7 separate regions of the Homo sapiens genome follow, and all the other regions are linked to region 6. Evidence: promoter capture Hi-C in 16 types of primary human blood cells and fetal thymus (Javierre and others, 2016). All regions are on one chromosome and are shown on one strand. The core of a region is centred on a gene start or on the middle of the fragment in contact, and the rest is flanking DNA. Distances in the headings are between cores, read along the strand shown.

The links. The method cuts DNA at HindIII sites, captures the fragments that hold promoters and counts their contacts. A CHiCAGO score of 5 or more calls a contact.
Region 1: a contact is called between a fragment that was not itself captured here and the fragment with the promoter of PECR in region 6, in 1 of 17 cell types (neutrophils). The highest score is 6.7, in neutrophils.
Region 2: a contact is called between a fragment that was not itself captured here and the fragment with the promoter of PECR in region 6, in 7 of 17 cell types (neutrophils, activated CD4 T cells, naive CD4 T cells and 4 more). The highest score is 14.1, in neutrophils.
Region 3: a contact is called between a fragment that was not itself captured here and the fragment with the promoter of PECR in region 6, in 3 of 17 cell types (neutrophils, activated CD4 T cells and total B cells). The highest score is 7.2, in neutrophils.
Region 4: a fragment that was not itself captured here is called in contact with the fragment with the promoter of PECR in region 6 in 1 of 17 cell types (activated CD4 T cells); the score reaches 5.7 in activated CD4 T cells.
Region 5: a contact is called between a fragment that was not itself captured here and the fragment with the promoter of PECR in region 6, in 1 of 17 cell types (neutrophils). The highest score is 6.1, in neutrophils.
Region 7: a fragment that was not itself captured here is called in contact with the fragment with the promoter of PECR in region 6 in 1 of 17 cell types (activated CD4 T cells); the score reaches 5.7 in activated CD4 T cells.

The regions. Positions count from the first base shown.
Region 1 is chr2:216,432,909-216,435,945 of GRCh38, forward strand. It overlaps SMARCAL1 (SNF2 related chromatin remodeling annealing helicase 1), which reads left to right. Exons shown (of 18, transcript NM_014140.4): 9 at 2,430-2,588. Among named protein-coding and RNA genes, the nearest start is that of SMARCAL1-AS1, 22 kb to the left of the region's middle. The HindIII fragment of the contact is 9,837 bases long and covers 1-3,037 here.
Region 2 is chr2:216,397,972-216,401,046 of GRCh38, forward strand. The region is part of intron 1 of SMARCAL1-AS1 (SMARCAL1 antisense RNA 1); the gene reads right to left. It overlaps LOC107985984 (a long non-coding RNA gene), which reads left to right. Exons shown (of 3, transcript XR_001739880.2): 3 at 1,437-1,777. Among named protein-coding and RNA genes, the nearest start is that of SMARCAL1, 13 kb to the right of the region's middle. The HindIII fragment of the contact is 687 bases long and covers 1,421-2,107 here.
Region 3 is chr2:216,490,811-216,493,973 of GRCh38, forward strand. The region is part of intron 1 of RPL37A-DT (RPL37A divergent transcript); the gene reads right to left. Among named protein-coding and RNA genes, the nearest start is that of RPL37A-DT, 6.4 kb to the right of the region's middle. RefSeq lists an enhancer at 1,757-1,816. The HindIII fragment of the contact is 1,159 bases long and covers 962-2,120 here.
Region 4 is chr2:216,513,035-216,516,178 of GRCh38, forward strand. No RefSeq gene overlaps it. Among named protein-coding and RNA genes, the nearest start is that of RPL37A, 16 kb to the left of the region's middle. The HindIII fragment of the contact is 4,644 bases long and covers 1-3,144 here.
Region 5 is chr2:216,451,384-216,454,851 of GRCh38, forward strand. All of the region lies in intron 12 of SMARCAL1 (SNF2 related chromatin remodeling annealing helicase 1), which reads left to right. Among named protein-coding and RNA genes, the nearest start is that of SMARCAL1-AS1, 41 kb to the left of the region's middle. The HindIII fragment of the contact is 1,621 bases long and covers 861-2,481 here.
Region 6 is chr2:216,080,468-216,083,876 of GRCh38, forward strand. PECR (peroxisomal trans-2-enoyl-CoA reductase) reads right to left here and starts at 1,342. Exons shown (of 8, transcript NM_018441.6): 1 at 1,151-1,342. The coding sequence starts at 1,274. It overlaps TMEM169 (transmembrane protein 169), which reads left to right and starts at 1,452. Exons shown (of 3, transcript NM_001142311.2): 1 at 1,452-1,512. RefSeq lists enhancers at 944-1,023, 1,054-1,103 and a silencer at 1,294-1,553. The HindIII fragment of the contact is 11,582 bases long and covers 1-3,409 here.
Region 7 is chr2:216,366,747-216,369,865 of GRCh38, forward strand. It overlaps MARCHF4 (membrane associated ring-CH-type finger 4), which reads right to left. Exons shown (of 4, transcript NM_020814.3): 1 at 2,999-3,119. Among named protein-coding and RNA genes, the nearest start is that of MARCHF4, 4.2 kb to the right of the region's middle. The HindIII fragment of the contact is 1,519 bases long and covers 1,001-2,519 here.

The DNA of each region.
Region 1 (3,037 bases), core at 478-2,977, 350 kb after region 6:
TCTTCAGTGTTAGAGTCATAAAATAATGGTTTGCAGACAGGGCCTAGGGATCTTTAAGGATCCTGTCTCAAGTAAAGGCAAAGGCAGGAAGAGAGATGAGATGCCACCTGAGGGCAGGCTGGGGGTTTTCTGGATTAGAATCAGGTTACACCTTGAGGGAAGAAAGCCAAGGAGAAACCGGCTTAGAGACTTGTGTTCATCTGTCAGCAGGCACTTCTGGGACCTCTGTGCCCTGCTAATAATACTTTTCATCTGTACCACACTTAATTTTTTTTTATTTTTCTTTTTTATTGTTTTTTAAAATTTTTATTTATTTTGAAACTGGATTATGAGACTGGCTAGTTTTTGTACTTTTTGTAAAGATGAGGTTTTGCCATGTTGCCCAGGCTGGTCCCAAACTCCTGGGTTCAAGTGATCCACCTGTCTTGGCCTCCCAAAGTGCTGGGATTACAGGAGCCACTGTGCCCGGCCCACACTTAATTTTTAAAATATTTTTACCTCCTGTATTTTCCTCAATCCCATGACAGTCCTGTGCAGTAGGTACAATAGATAGTAACCCCATTTATAGATGAGAAAATGGAATCTCAGAGGTTAAGCTCCATGCTTCCTCTTAATGAGGAGCCCTGGCGGATCTTGATGTGGCATCTTCTGACTTCCCAACTCAGGGGTTTTGCACTCTGTAGAGGGGGGAGTGAGTGGGATGTTCACTGTCTGCCAGGTAGCTTTATGGATCCAGAGCCTGACAAGAAAACTGTATCACTCACCCTTGAGCTTTTTTTGCTGTAAATCCAGGAATCAGAGTGCTTTTGTGAAATGAATAAAAAGCCCATGAACAAACTCAGTGAAGAAGGAAGACCTGGTCCATCGTCCACAGCTTTTTCTAGCTTTATGCCACTGACGTCAGCCTGGGACTTCTTCCTGAGGCCTCCATGAGCCATTCATGCAGAAGAGGCAGCTCCTCCTACTGCCGGTCAGTCCAAGGCCCAGATGTGCTATTCTGACCGAAGAGATGGCAAAAAAAAAAAACACTAAAAAATGTGCACCTTGTTTTTTTTCTGTCCTGGTGATCTGAGTTCTTTTTTTTTTTAATTTTAATTTTTTATTTTATTTTTTAATGAGACAGGGTCTCATTATGTTGCCCAGGCTGGTCTTGAACTCCTGAGGTCAAGTGATCCTTCTGCCTTGGCCTCCCAAGTCTTGTGAATTCTGCCAGTGCCTGTAGAAAGTAATCTTCAGAACATATTTTGTGTGCGTTAGGTTCCCACAGCACCCTCAGAAATTCTAGGAAGAGTCAGCCAGACGGTGACCAGCCTGAGGTTAGAGAAAAGGCCAGCCCTCCCTGTATTGAACAGTGTCACCCCATGTGAGGCAGGTGAGCACCCAGATGCCTGGGTGGGTTTGGCTAGAGATGCTCAGATTGCCAGAGAGAGAAGGTAGATTTGTAGAAATATCGACATAAGTAGTCTCGTCATCATCAATAAATGTTTATGATTTGCCTTCAGTGTACCAGGCTCTGCTACATCGTTCATAAAATTCCTCTTAAAAAGAGTCGCATTCTTTCCCTGCAGAAACTTACCATCTAGTTAGAGATCACAGAAATGAAACCCAGACACTGTGAAGTGACTGTTGACAAAGGCAGGGAGATAGCGAGGCATGGTGGTTCAGGCCTGTAGTCTCAGCAACTTGGGAAGCTGTGGCAGGAGGATTGCTTGAGGCCAGTACTTCAAGACCAGTCTGAACAACATACTGAGACCCATCTCTTTGAAAAAAAAAAAGAAAGAAAGAAATTAGCCAAGTATGGTGGTGTGCACCTGTAGTCCCAGCAACTTGGGAGGCTGAGGCGGGAGGATCACTTGAGCCTAGGAGTTTGAGGCTGCAGTAAGCTGTGATGGTGCCACTGTACTCCAGCCTGGGCAACAAAGTGAGACCAACACAACTCTCTATTTTTTTTTTTTTTTTTTTTCTGAGACCCGAGGTTTCTCTCTTGTTGCCCAGGCCGGAGTGCAATGGCGCGATCTCGTCTCACCACAACCTCCACTTCCCGGGTTCAAGCGATTCTCCTGCCTCAGCCTTCCGAGTAGCTGGGATTACAGGCATGCACCACCATGCCCAGCTAATTTTGTATTTTTAGTAGAGATGGGATTTCTCCGTGTTGGTCAGCCTGGTCTCAAACTCCCGATCTCAGGTGATCCGCCCTCCTCAGCCTCCCAAAGTGCTGGGATTACAGGTGTGAGCGACCGCACCCGTCTCCCCCAACTCTTAAAAAAACAAAAAAGGGAGTGTCCTGTTAGTGGCAAGTGAAGGGGCACAGGTAGGTGAGAGGAAGGTAGAGGTGATGGCTGTTGATGGGCATGAGACTGCTGCTGTCACAACCAACAGCTGCTGTGCTGGGTGGTCATTGTAGCTTTGTTCCCTCCTGTCATCCACAGGCCTTCCTTCGGTGGCTGCCATCTCTGAGCCCAGATTGCATCAACGTCGTGGTGACTGGGAAGGACCGCCTGACAGCTGGCCTGATCAACATTGTCAGCTTTGACCTTCTTAGCAAGTTGGAAAAACAGCTAAAAACCCCTTTTAAAGTTGTCATCATTGTAAGAAACTTGGCAAAGTCTTTAAGTACTTTATCTCTCTGGAAACTTTCTTTGTAAAAGCTCTGAGAACTTTCATGTCTGTAATCTCCTTGAGCCCCATTTAGTTTCTAGAAGAATAGAAATCACTGTCTTTATTTTGTGGGGAACTGGAAATTCATTCCCCTCAAATAGCCATTCTCAACTCTGGCTACGTACTAGAATCTCTTAGGGAGCTTTTTTTGAAATTGTGATTTAATTAGTCTTTGCTGGGGATTTCTAGCTCATCTCTTTCCCAGCGTGACTCATGGATGGAGGCCAGCATGTGGACCCCAGGCCACCTGGGGGCTCTGGGTACTACAACCTGGACGGCAAGGGGGTGTGCCTACATCTGGTGCCATCTTACTCAAACAATTGAGTTTTCTTCCAGCCAATGTGAAGATACACCCCCACCCCACAAAAGCACTTTTTAC
Region 2 (3,075 bases), core at 514-3,013, 320 kb after region 6:
GCTATGATTTGAATGTGTCCCCCAAAGTTGGTGTTTTGGAAACTTACTCACCAAGGCAAAAGTGTTGGGAGGCACGGCCTAATAAGAGGTGATTAGATCAGGAGGCTCTGCCCTCAAGAATGGATTAAAATCATTATTGCAGAAGTGGTTAGTTGTCTCCAGGGTGGGATAGTTATAAAAGCAATCCAGCCCCCTCTTGCTGTCTTGCTCTGGAGAGGTTTCTCACCATGTGATGCCCTCTGCCAGGTTACGACACAGCAAGAAGGCCCTCGCCAGATGCATCTCCTCCATGTTGGACTTCCCAGCCTCCAGATCCCTGAGCCAGATAAATTTCTATGGTTTACAAATTACCTAGTCTGTGGTAGTCTGTTACAGCAATACAAATGGACTAAGACAATTATCATATCTAACAAAACAAAAATTCTTTCAAATCATCATGTATCCATTCAAATTCAAAATTTCTTGATTGTGTCGAAGTAAGGTTTTTTTAAACATTAATTTAGTTTGATTCACATTTCAATTTTTAGTCTAGCACAGGATCACCCACGAGGGAGCATTTTGAAAAAGTGTGGAGTGTTTTTGGTTGCCCCAATGATGGGTAAGGGGCTTACTTCTGGCAAGTAGAGGCTGGGACCCCAGGCAGCTCAATCTTTTACTATCTGTGAGACAATCTCACCATCTCATATATACTTACCCTATGCTCCACACAATTTTCAAATGTTCTACTAGATATTTACAGAGTTGTTTATAACTTGCTTATAACTATCTGAGCTTTAAAAAGTAACAATTTTATATGTAAACAGAGAGACTTTTTAAAAATGATTTTTAATATGCACTAACTGTATGCTAAGAATGAAACTACTCTGTAAATTAAGGGAAGATTAGAGTTTGTGTTGTTAATTTCTTTACCAGATTTGCTCACTCTTTTGGAAAATCACATCATTGACTGCCACACCACTCATGGTAATTGAGTCTCCAATATGCCTGTATTAGTTTTCATTCATAGCTGTCATAACTGTGGTGTTTTGCTTTTAGGAAATAGTGCCTGTCTTATCATGTATCCCGCATAGTCCTCTCTGAGTTGTTGGCTATTGAAATACACCCCTATGTGTGATTCCTTAGCTTCTTCCTACTCTAAGTGTTGCTCAGTCCTTCTCATCATGCCTGAACCAGATACTGTGGTCTCCAGCTGTCTTTCTCTTAGAATAATGTCCCAGCATTTAGGTTTGGTTGGGGACGGGAGCAAGGGGTGGGCATGAATTTCCTGAGCTTCCCTGGCATTTGCAGGGAGACAGCAAGGGAATACCTCTGTGGGTCACAACAGAGGGAGAGCCAGCTGAGCTTGCAGGATGGAAACATTTAGTAGGCTCCCTCCAGCCATCACTGTCTCCACTACTGCTGACGCCACCATCCATAACAAAGCTTCCAATTTGCAGGCTTCAGATTCAGCTTCTGTTTCCTGAGTGCCTCCACTATACCAGCCATTGGGCCAGGCATCCAGAAGCCCTAAGGTAGACCTCATCATCCCTGTTCTACAGGAGAGGAAAACCAAGACTTGGCTACTACAGTATACAAAGGGTGTGGAAAAGTCCTCCTAGAACCCTTACCCTGCTTCCAGGAGGAGCTGGACAGTTCTTTCCAAGTCCAGGCAGAAAGAAGTCTCCTCTTTTTCCATTCTCTTTGTTACTTTATATGTCTGTGCAGGCTTGGTTGAGGAAGAAGGGGGGCCAGAAGGAAGTCTGGCCAGATGGCAGGGTAATAAATGACTCTGACTTAATAATTTGTTGCTCTCCTCTTAATTAAAAGGCTTTTCCCTAAATGATTTGCTGATCACACAAACAGCACACACTAGTTGGGCGAGGACTGGGGGCCCAGGGAAATCTAGACTGAGAGGAGAAGGCATTGGAATAAAGAGGTGGCAGATGGCAGAAGAAGCCCACCCTCCATGTCCCAGGGTGGGCCCAGCTTCAGGAGCTCCCTCCTCCTCAGGTCTGAAACAATTCAATCCAATGATAGAGCTTTGGGGGACTGGTTCTTCTTTCAGGCCTCAGCTTTTCTGGAAGCTGACTTTGCCAGGGGGCTTTTTAATTTCTGGGATGAAGATATAAGCTTTATTTTATCTAACACGTGGCTTTGCATTCAGTTTCCTCAAAGCCCCATGTGGCCTTGGGGGGTGATCAGGTAGCCTTTGGACCATTTTGCATATAAACTGTCACTTATACACTTGATCAACTGGGGTGGTGGTCATAGAGGGGGACAGGGCACCCATTGTTCCAAGCAGCGTCCTGTCAATATCTGCAGTTGCAAGCAAATGACACTAGATAGTGTCAATGGATAAGCTCTCTATTGCATCTTTACAACTGCAATTTATAAGTTCCTGGGATTAAAATCTGCTTTCCAGCAATTATCACACAGAGGTATATTTTCAAAGCCTCACATGTAATTAGAACATGTTATTGATAAAGTGCTAGCTAAAGATTTAGACTTTGAGTCTGTTCATGAGGGATCAGTTTTGTTAATATTGATAATGTTTTCCCCCTTTAATGCAGTTAGGAGTTAGATTGAGATGCCAAATTCAATCAAAATGCACATCTTATCCCCCGCCAAGGGACTTCTGGCTCTCTTTTACTTGTTCAGACTTGTAGAAAGGACCCCAGAGATCGTGTCATATAGGAAAACATCCTGCCAATCTATAACTCTATGTTAAAGAATAAACTCTTTTACACATTATTTTGGTTAACTAGATTTTTCTCAGCATTTGTGCTTCCATCAGATTGGATCATCCTTGCCATAACCACCATCTTCCTATTATTGCTGGATTCCAAATTTCTACTTAGCCAGTTCAGACACCACTTCATCCGCTTAACCTTCCTGATTCTGTATTCCCTGTGTCTCCATCATCAGAGCTCCTCACTAAACCCCCAAGGCCATTTATCTGTGATTGATTGATTGATTTCTTTTTAGAGACGGAGTCTCACTATGTTTCCCAGGCTAGAGCACAGTGTCTATTCACAGGCATAATCATAGCCCACTAAGGCCTTGAATTCCTGGGCTCAAGCAACCCTCTTGACTCAG
Region 3 (3,163 bases), core at 291-2,790, 410 kb after region 6:
GGCAACAGAGCAAGACTCCGTCTCAAAAAAAAAAAAAAGAAAGAAAGAAAGAAAAAAAGAAAAAGAAAATAGTATGTTGCAGAAGCTTTTGTGTTTTGCCGTTAATGTTTAGATCTACAATCCACCTGCAGTTTATTTTTGTATATGGGGTGAGGTAAGGCCAAGGTTAATTTTTTCCATATGAATATGCAGTTAGCTCGGCACCACTTATGGAAAAGACGGTCCTTCCACCTACTGCTCTGCAGTGCCTTCTTTCCAATATTATGAACTGGATGTAAAAATACATCTAAGGCTGGGCGCAGTGGCTCACGCCTGTAATCCCAGCACTTTGGGAGGCCAAGGCGGCAGATGAACTGAGGTCAGGAGTTTGAGACCAGCCTGGCCAACATGGTGAAAACCCATCTCTACTAAACATGCAAAAAAATTAGCTGGGCATGGTGACGGGCGCCTGTAATCCCAGCTACTCAGGAGGCTGAGGCAGGAGAATTGCTTGAACCCGGGAGGCGGAGGTTGCAGTGAGCCGAGATCGTGACACTGTACTCCAACCTGGGCAACAGACAGAGACTCTGTCTAAAAAAAAAAATTCATCTAGAAAAGTATAAGCTCAAAAATAAGAGTCCTGCATTCTCCTCCCTCCCTCCCTCAGCCCTACCTCCTAGAAGTAATAACTAAATAATTTGAGATAAAGCCATTTGTAATTTATCTCTATGCATACAAATATATGTAAAATACACATAGAATCTGTTTTTACAAAAACTGTATCAAATTCTTCATACTGAAAATGACTCACTTCACATGATGTACTTGGCCATTGTTTCATATTGATCTACCCATTAAATTATGATTTATTTATTTATTTATTTATTTATTGAGACAGAGTCTGTCTCTGTCGCCCAGGCTTGAGTGCAATGGTGCGATCTCAGCTCATTGCAACCTCCGCCTCCTGCTACTCGTTAAATTAAGCTTAACCCAGTGCTGCCTTGTTACATATTTTAAAGTCCGCCTAAAGGTTTCTCTGTGCAGAGTGAACTATAACCTAACTAGATTGGTAAACAGACTGGGACCCACTCTTGTAACAAGTAGCCAAGTCTCAGGCAATTACCGCAGCCATATGTCAGCCAATCACAGGTGGCCAACCGTTCACACTGTGTTCAAATAAGGCAAATATGCAACCAATCCAGCTCTTTCTGTCCTCACTTCCCTTTTCTGTATGTTACTTTCTTTGTTCTGTCCATAAATGTGAACCAACCATGTGGCAACCCTGGAGCTGCTCCGGACCTCTTCTGGTTGTGGGGGCTGTCCAATTCACAAATCATTCTTTGCTTAATTAAACTCTGTTAAATTTAATTTGTTGAAAGTTTTCCTTTTAACATACCTTATCCCACTTAAGAGTTGCCAAGTAACTACTCCAGTCTTTATGTGTGCACTTCCTGTGTAAATGCTCTGTGACGGGTCCATTAATAACTAGAACGAGTTTAAATGGAATTTGAGGGGAGAAGGAGGAAAGGAAAGAGGGGTTGCCTGAGTCAATTTCCCACACTCTTATTCTTTCGGGGCATCCAGGACTGCCTTGGAGGGCCTCACCTTTCCTGCTGGGTCAGCTCTTGCCTGTGGCTCTGGCCTCACGGGACTCTCAACAATGCTGTGCAGGCCCCACTCTTGTCTGTGGCCCCCAGGGGCTTTGTGGAGAGCAGGCTCTCTTGAGGCATGAAGTGAAGGAACCACGCCCCAATAAACCCTTTCTGTCTCCAGCACAAGATGAATTTGGAATGATGCTTGCACCTCAGATTTCTTTCAAGAATAAAATGTTCCATATGCCCCAAGAGAACTGGTTAACAGCTACAAGAACTCCTCTCTGGAGGTGACTTTTAACTTATTTATTTTTCTAAAGGCAAAGAGTGAATGTTGAGGGCTCCTTAAGAGCAGAGGTGAGCCAGCAGTGATTTTTACTGAGTCTTTTATGGGGACACATTATAGTTAACATTCTCCACACCGGATGGTACTCTAATAGGGATGGAAATTTATGAGCCCACAGAAAAGACAAATTGAGACTTTAGGAGAGGGCCGATTCTCTGAAGTCACTCAGAGCTGATTTCATGAGTGCTATTTGTACATCCTCAAGCTTGCTATTTAAAGATAATTGTTCAGTTTTGACAAAATTGCTCTGAACATGAACAATTTCCTCCTATTATGGAGTGTCTCATTTTCAGCCGCTTACTGCATTCCTACTCATGCATTCCCTCTTCTCTTGCTCTCTCTCTCAGACCCCCCTGAAGGCCAGAGACGTAGGAGGCTCTGCAGCGGAGGGCGTGGGGGAGGCAGCACATTTGCTAAATGATGATCTGAATTAGGCTCTAGTGCCAGCCCAGGATGGCTCACCTCAGCTCTGCCTGGACTGCCCCAGCATGAAGCTGACTCACCCACTCCCCAGCTCAATTGAGCACCATCCTGTGTGGCCAAGAGGCACAGTCTGAAAAGGGAGGATCATGGTGAGCATTTGTTTAAGACTCCTTCCACTAGTCTCCTTTGTTTGTATCAACATGGATATATTTTTGTTTTAATTTATAGTTTTCTGGAGGCAGGCATTGCTTGGGTGGAGAGCTTTCCAGATAACATCCCTGAAATGCAGTGCATTTCCCTTCTGAGGGAAGAGGGACTTGTTCCCTTGGCCCCTTGCCATCTTCCACCCTAACCTATGGGGGCAGAGGGTGCATGAGGCCTGTGGTGGAAGAGAAACATCTTGGGCACATCTCACTCCCTTTGTGGGCCTCAAGCGGCATCAGTTACCATGACTGTAGTGGTTTCATTGTGTCCAAGCTAAAGAAATTAAGGAGAAAAGAGATGGGCATATTTTTAAGGGAAAGAAGAAGGCAGATCTTCTGTACTTCCTTGAGTATGGCAGAAGAGGAGAGAGGATTGAAAAGGCAGAAAGAGATGTTGAAATCAGGTAGCAGCAGCAGCAGCAGCAGCATCTCAACAAACATACTGGCCACTATTTTAAAATGTTCACTAGACACTTCATGGAAGTTATTTTATCTTCCTGAGACCCTTTATTGTACAGTATACTCATTTTGCAGCTGCGGAAAGAGACTTAGAGACTTGAATCATGTGATACAGTGGAGCGAACACACGTTTATGTGTCACTTAATGGCTATGTGACCTT
Region 4 (3,144 bases), core at 499-2,998, 430 kb after region 6:
CATGTATTATGGGTATGGAGTTGTCTCTTGCCTACAGTGTATCTGCCAGCATTACCATTCATGGGCTTGCAGAATGCCTTATCCATCAGTGTGATATCCCATACCATATAGAGTTTAAGGTACTGTCCTACAAGATGTAGTTTATACCTTAAATCTATCAGTATATAGTGCTACCTCTTCCATAGCCAGAATGGATAGGTCAAGAAATCAAGTGATGGAGGTGGAACTTACTACATTGAAAATTCTGCCAGTTAACCCACTGAAAGCATTTTTATTTCCCCCGCTTTTGACCTGCTTTTGAGTTTGGTGACTTTGGAGGTCCTAGTTCCTAAGGAAGTAATGTTTCTCTCAGGGAATTCAACCTTGGTTCCATTTAAATTGAAATCTTGAGTCAGTTCTCTGATCACTTTGAGCTCATTCTACTGCTGAACCAGCAGGCAGAAAAGGTGGTCTCTCCAGATTATCACCTTTACCATCCAATAATTTCAGCTCTGTGCTTCAGATACCTTGCCATATCAAAAGAAAATATCCAGAAAGAAGCACCAAAAAAGGAAAAGAACAAATACGTGTACAAGACATAGGAGCTAGTTAAGAGTTCTTTTCTTTTTAGAGACAGTCTCCTCTGTTGCCCAGGCAAGAGTACAGTGACACAATCATAGCTCAATGCAGCCTGGGACTCCTGGGCTCAAGTGGTCTTCTGGCCTCAGCCCCCCGAGTAGCTAGGCCAGAAGCTACTGTGTGTTATGCCCGGCTTATTGTTATTATTATTAGTAGTAATAGTAGTAGAGATTGGATCTTGCCATGTTGCCCGGGCTGGTTTCTTGCTATATTGCCCAGGCTGGTTTCAAATTCCTGGCCTAAAGCGATCCTCCTCAGCCTCCCAAAGTGCCGGGATTACAGGTGTGAGCCACCATGCCTGGCCTCAGTTATAGTATATAATTGGAGTCCCACAGGAGAAAGGAGAGATGATAATGGCTTTTTTTCCCCCAAAACCAATGAAAGATACCAAGCCACAGTTTAAAGTATCCCTGTAAACTTACACAAAATAAAAATTTAAAAGTTACACCTAAGAATGTCATAGTATTACTGAATCCCAGAGAAAAAGAGCATAATAAAAGCAGCTAGTAGCAAAAAAGGTGTAACACTAACAGTTAACTTCTTAACAACCATAGAATCTAGAAGAAAATAGAGTTATACTTTGAAAGTGCTTCAAGTTCTGTACTCAGCAATTATAACATCAGAATATGAAGGTGAAACAAAGACAGTTACCTCTGCCACCACCACCAATAAAATACTGACGGAATTGATCACTAGCACACCCACACATCACACAGAAGGCAAATAATCCATGGATGAGACTTGAAGGAAGGAGTGGCAGTCAACAAACGGGAACTATGTCAGTAAATACAAGTGAATTTAGACCACATGAATAGTAGCAGCAACAACTTTGGGGAGTGAAACGAAAATGTATTACAGCAGCATATAAATTGGGAAAGGGTAAATAGTGTTAAAATATTCGAAGGTTCTTGCATTGTTCTGGAAGAAGTCAAACTACAAAGTTAGTATATGTTGCAATCTCTGATAATCATGAAAAGAATAGAAAGTAATATATAACAATACAATGGAAATAGAATTGAAAAACAGAGGAGAGAGAAAAAGAATTTGTAAGACAAGTAGTACCTAGTAAGGTAGATTTAAACGTACCTGTGCACACATGTATATACATACACACACACACATATATATATAGGCACATTTATATATATTTATATCTAAATTTATACATTTGTAATATATATAATATAGTACATATTACATGTGTATTACAATATTACATATTGTATGTAACATATGCCTGTGTACACATGTATATATACACACGTATATAATATACATATTATATATATAAATGTGCCAGTAATAACTTTGCATACAAATAGACTAAGTGTGTCAATTAAAGATATAGTCAAATTGGATTACATACCCAAAGTATAAGGATTAAAGAAAAACCTAAAGCACAAGGAATCAGATATAAAAATAAAATATAAGGAAACAGACTCACCAAAGTTATAAAGATACCGAAAGAGTGAAAGTAAAAGGATGGAAAAAGATATAACAGGCATTTAAGAAATAATGATCCATGAAATGAAAGCTGTGTTAATATCTGACAATGTGGACTTAAAGGCAAAAAAGCATTACTAGAGACAAAGAAGGACATATATATTGTTAAACATATGGAAAACGTGCATGATTTTTCAGCAATTCTGGGGCATTGATATGAAACACTAGATAAGTAGGTGGCAATGGCTCTGAAAATATTCTTGAGGTGCAAATTGAACAATTAATTGAAGAACTTAGAGAAACACTGACTAGAGAAAATCAAGGGGCTGGCTATGGTGGCTCACACCTGTAATCCCAGCACTTTGAGAGGCGGAGGTGGGCAGATTGCTTGAGCCCAGGAGTTCAAAACCAGCTTGGGCAACATGGCGAAACCCTGTCTGTACAAAAAATAGAAAAATTAACCAGGTGTGCTGGCATGCGCCTGTGGTCCCAGCTACTTGGGAGGCTGAGGTGGGAGAATGGCTTGAGCCCATGAGGCAAAGGTTGGAGTGAGCTGAGCCGAGATTGCACCACTGCACTCCAGCCTGGGCGACAGAGCCAGATCCTATCTGAAAAAAAAAAAAAAAAAAAAAAAAAAAAAAAAAAAAGCAATGGCAATGAACAAGACGACCCAGCAAGTTGGAATCATCATAAGCTGGAAAACGTGAATTTGTTAATTTCTAAATAATAGAAATCTCTATCAAGCAAAACTTAAAATGTTAAGAAATGTTTCAGCACTCAAGAGGTAGCAGTAATAGATGCTAACCATCTTTTTTTTTTTTTTTTGAGATGGAGTCTTGCTCTGTCGCCCAGGCTGGAGTGCAGTGGCATGATCTCGGCTCACTATAATGTTTGCCTCCCGGGTTCAAGTGATTCTCCTGTCTCAGCCTCTCAGTTACAGGAGATTACAGGCGTGCACCACTATACCCAGCTAATTTTTTTTTGTTGTTGTATTTTTAGTAGAGATGAGGTTTCATCATGTTGGTCAGGCTGGTCTTGAACTCCTGACCTCAAGTGATCCATCTGCCTTGGCCTCCCAAAGTG
Region 5 (3,468 bases), core at 421-2,920, 370 kb after region 6:
TGAGAATGCATCAGTCTAGTAACAGTTGTTAGAAAATTAGTCCTAACATGTTTGATACATATGTTAATCCTTTAACCATACTGTGTCATTTGTGTTAGTCAAAATAACAAGCCGACATTCTTATAACAAAATAGAGTTTTCAAATCCTCCTAACCTTTTAAATCCCTATTACAGGCATTTATGGTTGGCAGGAAGTTGGCATCCCCCTTTTTACAGAGAGGGAAACTGAGGCTCACAGAGATTGCAGTTTGCCCAGGGTCTCTTAGCTGCTCCACCACAGAGCTGAGGCTAGAACCAAGCCTCTTGCCCCTATATTTTAGGACTGTTTTCACTATGATGGTTTTATCTTTTCAAACACTTTTATTTCTGTCTTTAGTGTCATACTGTGCTAAGTGCTATAATCTACACCAGCTCTGTTTCTGTCCTCTTAGATAAAACCTTGTAATTCCCATTACTAAGAAAATAACAGTCATTGATATTTTTCAACATCATGAAGCATTATCTGGGCTTGATATTACCCTGTATAAAGATATTTAGATGTAGATCTCAGCCTTCTGGGAGGTTACAAAATAAATAAGAATGACAAGAGACAGAATGCATGTTTTTCATGTTATTTTACCATGTGATGAGCAAGATTCATTGATAACTTTTAAGAAATGACAGGATAGAGGATGCACTGGCAAATTTTCAAGCTGTATTGAATTTATGCTGTATTACATATAATAATCTGGATGGTCTGGAGTAAGTGAGCAGGCATCATCTCTTTATTGTGGAGTTTTCAAACTTAAACAACATCGATGTAGACATATAGACCAGTGTTCTCAGATTATATTTCAGTGGAATCATGAGTAAAACCAGGAAGCTTTGTCACTAAAATCAATCTTGGTGGTCTTTTGTTTATTTTTAGAGATAAAAATGCAATGAGTAGATTATTTTTTCTCAATTTGAAGTTTTTTCTTATAACTTTTTCTTAATAACTTTCGTCTACTGGTGAACTCTACCAGACAAGAAAACCAGTGAACTGGTATAGCAAATATAATATTAATGGAAAAATTCAGACATGCAATATTTTTAGATGCAAAGAGCTGAATATTTATAAAATGTTATTTTTTTTGCCAGCAAAGTTGTTCCTTGTGTGTGTGAGATGGAAGTAAGTCTGTTAGTGTTTCGTGAGATTCCCCAGAGAACACCCTCACCAATACCTGGTTCACCTCCTGAACCAGTTTGAGAACAGCCAAGGTAGACACCTGAAAAAGCAATTAGTGGGCATTTGAATTAAGGAGGAAAAGCACATTAACTTGTTGAAACACAACTGTGAATTGTGTAGTATGGCCAAAAAGAAAAAAAGAAAAGCAGTAGAAATTTTGTGCTTAGTGCAACAAGATCTGAAAGCATTTTGTAAACTTCTGCCAACTTGTATAGTTCTTCAAGTAAAGGGAGTGGCTCTTTTCAAAGATGATTTCAGATGTCACCTGAGAGTTTGATTTCTGAGCTTGTTGGTGATGCTATGAAATTAACTAGGAGGTACTATGGAATTTAGGAATGTTGGGTGTTTTATAACTTTAGGTAGCTATACAAATCCAGTATTTTTGAGGATATTTTTATATTTTCTTGCTTAGAAACGGAGCCACAACTCCCTTTTGGTTGTGGAAAAGTACATAAGGATAGTGCCAGTTGCCCAGAATCCTGCCTACTGGGTGATTATCCTCTTTGCTTTGTAAACACCACAGTGTTAACTCCATTTTGCAGATGATGAAAATGAAGCCTAAATTGCAGTGTCATTCTTCAAGAATCCAGCTGAGAAAGAGCCCGGAGCTCTTCTCAGTCCAGCACCTGAGAGTTGCTGTCTGCTTCCTTGGAGTCTTAGGAAAGTTAAACGTTTATCCCTGAAAGATAGAGATTGAGTTGGTACAGATTACCATCAGTGTGATGGCTGAAGCCAGACACTAAATTCTTTCAGATAATAATTCCTTAAGAACTTGATGCCTTTTTGTGTCTTAATAGAAATCAATTTTTATAATGGAAAATCCAAGTAGAAAACAGATTTGTGTGTTTGTGCTTTGGGCCATCAGAACCTTTGGATTTCTAAAGCCATTGATTTAGTGCATTTCTAAACCATGGATCTGATCAGGATCATTGCTCTAACTTAATTCAGGAAGGGAGCCAGCATCAGCTGGAGGCTGGACTAGATGACCATAGGCATGTCTTCCAGACCCTGGCCAGCTATGAAATCCTGAGTTGGAAGGGTTAAAATGGGGACTTATTTTTTTTATGGTTTTAGTTGAATAAGGAGGCCCTGTGGATCTATAGAAAGTCCCCTCTCTCCACTGCCACCAGTTTTTTAAGTTACTTTTTAGTCCCAAGTTTCCTTGCAATTTTGCAAATCATGGTGACTCCAGCCAAGCACTGCTGACCTGCCTGTCAAGAATTGATTCTTTGTTCCTTCACACCTTTCCATCTGGAAGAATACATTTCTTAAAAAGCTTTATATCACAGGAGCCAAGGTGAAGGAGCCAATTTATAGAATGTAATGTATAATCAAAGACTTTTCTCATTTTTTCAGCTGAAATAATGGATATCGCTTCACAGGCAAAGGAAAGCTGACTGTAATCATCTTTTGTCTAAAGCCATTTTTTCATCCTCAAGACCAGTAACAGAGAAATGGAACAAGTCCATACAGATTTCCTGGTAACAATATCAGTTCACCCTTGCCATTTGACAATCCACTCAAATTTCCAATGTAGAAAAATTTAAAAACTCCATTGGATCTAATTTAATTAAGGTCTAGTCAGGAACAAAGAATGCAGGTTATTTAAAATTTCCTGGCCAGTAGCTGGCAAAAGAAGTAAGATCATTAATAGAGAGTATTAGGTCTGCACAGTTTGGGGGAGTTTTTTTAAAGCTGAAACTATTGATTTCTCCCACATTAAAATAGATATCTATTGTATAAAATCTGAAAAATAAAGAAAAATACTTACAATCAGTAACATTTATTGAATACTTGCTCTGTGCTGGGCATGGTGCTTTACGTGTATTGCGTCATTAAATTCTCACCATCAGCCCAGATATTTGAGCCTCAGAGCCTGCACTTTTAAGTGCTACAAATTCTGGTTCTACCGTTTAGTAGCAGTGTGACAAGTATACTCATTTGACTTTTTTTGCCTCAGTTTCCTAATCTGCACAGTGGTAAAGTAGTGCCTCCCTCATAGCAATGCTGATTATTAAATGAGTTAATGCATATTTAGTTCTTAGAACACTGCTTGGCCCGTAATAAGTGGTATATGAGAGTTAGTTGTTATTTTTATTACTATACTATAAAAAAGAATCATCTTGGGGCGGTTCCAAGATGGCCGAATAGGAACAGCTCCAGTCTACAGCTCCCAGCGTGAGCGACACAGAAGATGGGTGATTTCTGCACTTCCAACTGAGGTACTGGGTTCATCTCACTGGGGCTTGTTGGACAGTGTT
Region 6 (3,409 bases), core at 92-2,591:
TTCACTACTCAAGACTACATCCTTGCATGAAAATCTTTGCTTGACTCCGTTTCCTTAAATTCCTGAAAAAGGAATTACTGTCATAGAGCATAAACATTGTGAAGGTTTTTGGATCTTTTTTTCCAAATTGCCTTCCAGAAAGTTTGTAATAATTTACATTCCTGCCTTCTCATTCCTGCATCAACACTTTAATTTTTCCCAACATTTCAAAATTTTGTTAGAAAAGTTAAATCTTACTGTTTCATATTTTATTACCAATAAAGTTGATTATTTTTTCATATGTTTCTTGCCTGTCTGTAGTTCTTCTTTTGGAACGCTTAGTCCATACCATTAGTCTAATTTTTCTATCAGTGTGTTGGATTTTTTCTTTATTTGTAAGAGCTCTTTATGTATAAGGCTGTTGGCCGAATCTAGTGGCTCAGCCTGTAATCCCAAAACTTTAGGACTCAGAGGCAAGGCAGGAGGATCCCTTGAACCCAGGTGTTCGAGACCAGCGTAGGCAACAGAGTGAGACCCTATCTCAAAACCAACAAACAATTTATCTTATGTTGCAAATATTTTTCTTCATATGCCTTTAAACTTTATATATTTTTTTAATTCAATGAGGATTTACACTTTCATACAGGTAGATTGATTTATGTTCTCCTTTGTGGTTTATTCCCTCACTTATGTGTTTACAAAGGCCTTCCTTCACCCAAGTTAAGGTAAATATTCAGCATATTTCCTTGCTGTGGTTAAGAGATGTGAGAAGATACTATGAGAGACTCACTATGTTCACAACTTTTTCCAGTTAAATGAAGTCTTCCCACGTTTCCTAATCACTCACATTAAGCATATAGAATGGATTAATTTTAAATCTGAATATAAAACTAATTGCACAGCATGTTTCACTGCTCTTCTTACTGCCTACCTGGGGCACAGTCTCTTTGGCCTGAGTGGTCTCTTCAGTTTTTAACGAGTGGCTCCACAATTCCTTAGGAAGAGCTGCTCTCTTCTGTCTCCCTGGTGGTCGTAATTTCGCCCACACCTGCCCCGTCTTTGCTCTGCAGCTCCACACTCCCTCAGCCCCGCCGAGAGCTCCTGGCTCCCGTCTCCAGGTTACCCCAGGTCACCACAGCCACCTCTCTGCACCAGCGGCCCGCTCACGTACCCAGCTCCAGGAGCTCCTTCACGATGGCTTTTCCGATGCCCGTGGCCCCGCCGGTGACGATGGCCACTTGGCCCTGCAGCAAACCAGGCGCCAGGTAGCTCCTGCCCTTAGCCCAGGAGGCCATCCCTGCAGCGGGGTGCCAGAGCAGCTGAGCGCAGGCCCTTCTGGGTCTCAGGGACATTCGAGGCGGGCGGGCGGACAGGGCGGTGCTCGAGCCCACGTGACCACCAGAACCCCGCACCCTCCCCGGCCCGGCCCCGCCCCGCCCGCCGGCCGCGGCAAAGCCGCATCCTCCCGGAGCAGAACCGCTCCCCGCCGGCTGTCCGCAACCTCCGCCAGCGTCGGTCCCTGGGCAGGTGTGGGTGAGACTGCTCGTTCGTTTCTTTAAATTTCGATGCCATTGGGGAGGGTGGAAGGGAAATGCAAAAAAAAAAAAAGAAGAAGAAAGAAACAAGCAGGGTGTGCTCTATTTCAAAAATTCAATCCTCAGGGCTGAAGCTCTCACGATTAATTAAAATTAAATCTCCAGTGCAGCTGGAAAAAGAAAGGCTGCTGCTCGGCGCCCTCGCTGCGCCCGCCTGCCGGGGTCGGACGTCGGCGATGCTGTGGCTCCAGGTGCTGTGTGCCGCTGGCTGGGAAGGGGAGAAAGGGCAGGCTTAGCTGAGGGGGAGAAATGCGGCTTTCAGATCCTTTCATCCTTCGGGAGGGAGCCCGGGAAAGAGAGTGAAGGGGAAGAGGAGATGCGGTTGCAGTTTTCCACAGAACCAAGAGAATAAACGATTTGAAAAAATAAACTCAGGCCCACCTCCGTCTCACCTCCCACTCCCCACCCAAGAATCAAGGGGAAAGATCATCTTTACCAGGTTTGAGACCTGATCCATTTCAGCTGAGCTGCATAGCGAGTCCAGAAGAGGATCTTTCCTTGAAGGGTGCACGCTTCCTGCAAGATGCATCTGTAGGTGTTTGAGATCATGTCCTGTAGTTCATTCCTTGTGCAGGAGGGTGAGCCCGCTGAGGATGGGGAAAATTTCTCGTCTGTGTTATGGTGCCCAGTAACAGTGATTTATTATTCAGATCTGCTCCTTATTTTTCATCTTGCTTCCCGCTCTGAACCCACCAGAGTGAGATTACACCTGGACTGGCCTACTGAGACTTCACCCTAAGAACTTGGTCGAATGTGCCAGTTGCTGTGGTCTTAACAATCCAGATGGGATGCTATTTCTAAGGCTGTTGTCAGAGTGTTGCATTTTCCCCGGACAGGTATTAAAATAATATAAAGGCAAATAAATGCCATCATCCTTTTGTTGGACCTACCACCTAGGATTCACAAAGCCAATTGGAAATGGGTCTGGTTGACAGAGGAATCAGACCATCACTTCCTCCACCAGGTCCCACCCACCAGCGAGGCTGCAGTTCTTGTTGGACAGCTACACTTCCCTGTTGCTCCATCCTCTTGTCCTTCTCTGATCTCTTTTTAGAATCACTTCTCCCTCTATCTTTGTTGCTGACAGATTCAAATCTACACTCGTTAAAGAAAGGAATAAATCTCCTGGTTACCATTTGCTAGATAGTTTATCCAGGAATCACTTAACTCTACTACTTAAGTCAATTCTGTAGTTAGGACCAAATTTTTAAAATTACAACGCCATCACCTCCTTTAAAACAAAGTAAATTCAAACAGGAAAGCTCAAAGTGTTGTTGCAGAAACATATAACTCCTCTTGGTTTGATCCCAATGACAAGGTGTTTTTTTTTAAGGAAAAGAAATATTGATTCAGTTCTGAGGGGTATCTTATTCAAGAGAAGTCCAGACTTTCTTTCTTGTGGGTGGGGACACTTTAAATTCTTTTAAATGATAACTTTATTGAAGATATAACTTAACATGATTTATGCCCTGGTCTGGACCTATAGATTCTTAGAGGTGTGCCAGGGTGGGTCAGTGGGAAGCTGGCTGTGCTGCAGCTTCCGTGTGGCTGCTGAGCGGACTGAGAGTGGGATTCTGATGTCTTCCAGTGAAACAGGGACTGGGGCCTGCAAACCGGTTATGCCTACTGAGGATGACAAGGTGCCATTCCTCAGCTGCAAGGAAGTTGCAGGATGAACAGTCAGAAGGCGATTTTTCATGATCCAGGCAGAACCTGCAATTAAGAGAGCTTTGGGGTCTCTTCAAGCGATCTTTTGTTTAAAATTAGGAGGCATGATCTCTTTGCCTCTGCCTCTGACCTCTGTCAGGGTTTGAAAGTCCACTAATCCGCTAAGT
Region 7 (3,119 bases), core at 510-3,009, 290 kb after region 6:
TCATTTTCCTTTTTAAATTTCATCACAGAGCTTAAATCACCTTATTTACTTACTAGTTTACTTGTCTATTTATGTGTCTCTACTAGAATGTCAGCTTCAGGAGAGCAGAAATCTCATCTATTTTGTTCACTCCTGAATACTCATGCCTGGAACAGCAACGGGCACACTGCAGGTGCCCCGAAAAATTTGTTAAATAAACGCATGCACCAATGAATGGATGCAAAGTCCTTTGTAGATAGGTACAAAGGTGAAACTAGCTGGATTCTCTTGCTGTTCCTCACCACAAATATTGCAAGCTGTTGGCAGGAAAAGATCAAATACTCATTTTTTGGCAGTCGTTTAGCCCCTATAGCAGTAGTAAATGATTGGGGTGATGGGGAGCAGGGAGGTGGGGGTCTGCTTAATTCCTTTGTTTGGGCAGAGATAACACCAAGACATTCAGCTACTAAGATTGCAGCCCACATTTCCTCCAGGGCCATGTGTAGACAATTGCTGGACAGCTCTCTCCCTGAACAGAAATTAAAACACAGAAATTTTAGCGTGTCTCTCTCTCTTTCTCTCTCCCCCTCCCTCCTCCTCCTCCTTCTCTCTCTATCCCTCTCTTTCTCCCTCCCCTTCACTGCTGTTGCCTCTCTATCTCTCTCTTCCTTTTCTAGAGTTTCCCTTATCTCCCCTCCTTTGTCTCCTTCATAGAAATGCTGTGAAAAAAAAAATGAGAAGAAACTGGGAAACTGTGTTCTCCACATCTAATGCAGTACTCACATTGCTGTTATTACTACTATAACACAATCCCATTAAAGCCTCTTGGCTCCTGCACAGATAAGGTAAACCCCCAAAACAAAATAATCATATGCAGGAAGTGCTTAATTTGATCCAGTCTTAATGCAGACAGGGCCCCCTAATCCTCCCACATAATAGAGCCCATTCCTTTACTGGTGTTAGCTTTTTTATTCAATGCTTTATTTATGACACCCCATCAAAATAATGAACAAGAAAGGAAAGCTTCTAACCTCTGACCAGATCTTGTATCACATGAGGGTATTTCACAATATTGCCAATGATTTTTTTCTTTTTCTTTTTTCAATAAAATACAGCTTTCTGTTATCAAAATACATGCTCATTATATATAAATTCCTTCCAAGATATTTTTACACTTCTTTTCTCCTGGATTCTCCCAACACACCTCTGAGGAAAGGAGGGGGGGGCATGAAAAGGTGTCTCCAAATCACGTAAGTTGGAAAAGCAGCCCAGAGGCATGAAGCTATTTGAAAAAGTTCACACAGTGGGGGAAATATTATCCCAGGGCACCTCCAAGTCCTGCTGTTTTCTAGAGACAAGAATGCTCTTGCCAGAAGCCACACTCTCAGAAGCCCCTGTGACATGCAGACCTGAGCCCATATGGGAGAAAAAAGAAATGCCTTAGGAATTTAGGAAGCCAAATAATTCTTTCTTTTGGAGAGTATGAAGTACTTGATGGTGGCAAGATCCTGATATCAAAGTGAGGCACCCTCTTGTTGTCAGCCGAGCCACTCTACCCCATAGCTCTGCCAGAGCCTGGTGCTGGAAGTAGAGAGAAAGAATGAAGGGAAGGCACTCTGGAGGATTTTTCCTAACAGGAGTTTTCAACTCTGGACAACACTTTATTGGATACTTAGGTAATCTTAAGATGGAAGAACCCAGCCCCCAGCCTCTCAGAGACATTTATTCACACTAAGATCTATATCACTTCCCCTCATAATTCCAAGCTGTAGCTCCAGGGATCACTGGTCCCCAGAGTTCTTTGTCCATTGAGAGCAAAGCAAGAAAATGAATGAAAATGCCAGCTAAGCCTGCATCTTACAGAGCACACCCTCAGCAAGAACCAGAGCCAGTCAAAGCCTGGCATGGCATCCTACTGCACTGCCACTTCCTCAAGGAGTATCCAGAAATCCTCCCTGCACTTCAGGAAACTATTGAAGAAGTGGCTGATAGGAACACATAACCTTGCCCACCTTGCAATTGAATACTCCTTCTCCAGCATCACTAACTGCGTGAGCCTTTCTATCTGTGATTCTTTGGAGAGTGTTGCCACATTCTATAGTTCCTGAAGAATGTACACATGCTATCCAGCATTGCTGATACTAGATTGTAGGTGAACTTGGGAGGGGTGTCTGTGAAAATCTGAATGAATAGGGTAGGGAAAACCTGCCAGACTTGGAAAAGCCCTGGTGCATATGAGAGTTGGCATCCCTATCCTGGATGGGGAGCATTTAAGGGATTTTCTAAGTCAACACACTTTTTAGGTCTGAAAAGGGAAATAGCAAGATACCTTATTGCCTACGTCAGTCTCTTAAACTCATTCTCATTCCCATTTACCTGCCTGTTTTCAACATAGAAAAATTTGAGTCTGCCAAGAAGTGTCTCAGCAAATCATATAGTCTTGGACCTAGAATCCCTCTCCATTTCCTCCTCAGTTGCTAGAACATAATGCTGAGGATGTCAACGTGATATGAAAGGAAGTTGTCCAAAGTAAAAGAACAAGCTTACTGGATTTCAACCTATGAGAAAAGGAAAAGAGAACAAGATCTCGGCATACTCTCAGAGCAGGAAGAAGTTGGGATATGGGACTGAAGATGGGCTAGACGAAATGTTACTAACAACAAGTTAGATAAAAGGATATCTTGGCAACCAGTGTGAATGTACCACCAAGTTTCTTCACTCCGTTGTTTCTAGATCTTCTATTCTGAGGATGTTTGTAAAATTTGGAGTTGGAATTGGAGACACTAGCATTGGAAGGAAAATGCAAAACCTAGAACACAAACGAACCACCAAACAGGCTCCACCAGGAACCAGACACTCATTGGGCAAACTTAACCACAAGAAACATCAATGAGGGCTCTTAAACATAGAGTCCTCATACTAAAGACAATATAACCGTTCCCCAGGGCAAGCAGGCGAGTAGCAATCTGCAAGACCTGAAAATACCACAGGAAGCAGGAGAAGAGAAAAGGGGACTCACCTGTTCTGGCCCCTGGAAGCAGATGCGGCAGAGTGGGGTCCTCATACCACTGTCCAAGCTGCTGCCCAGTGAGTAGCGATCCTCGGTCTTCTCCTTACAGAAGTCATCTGAGGAGGCACTG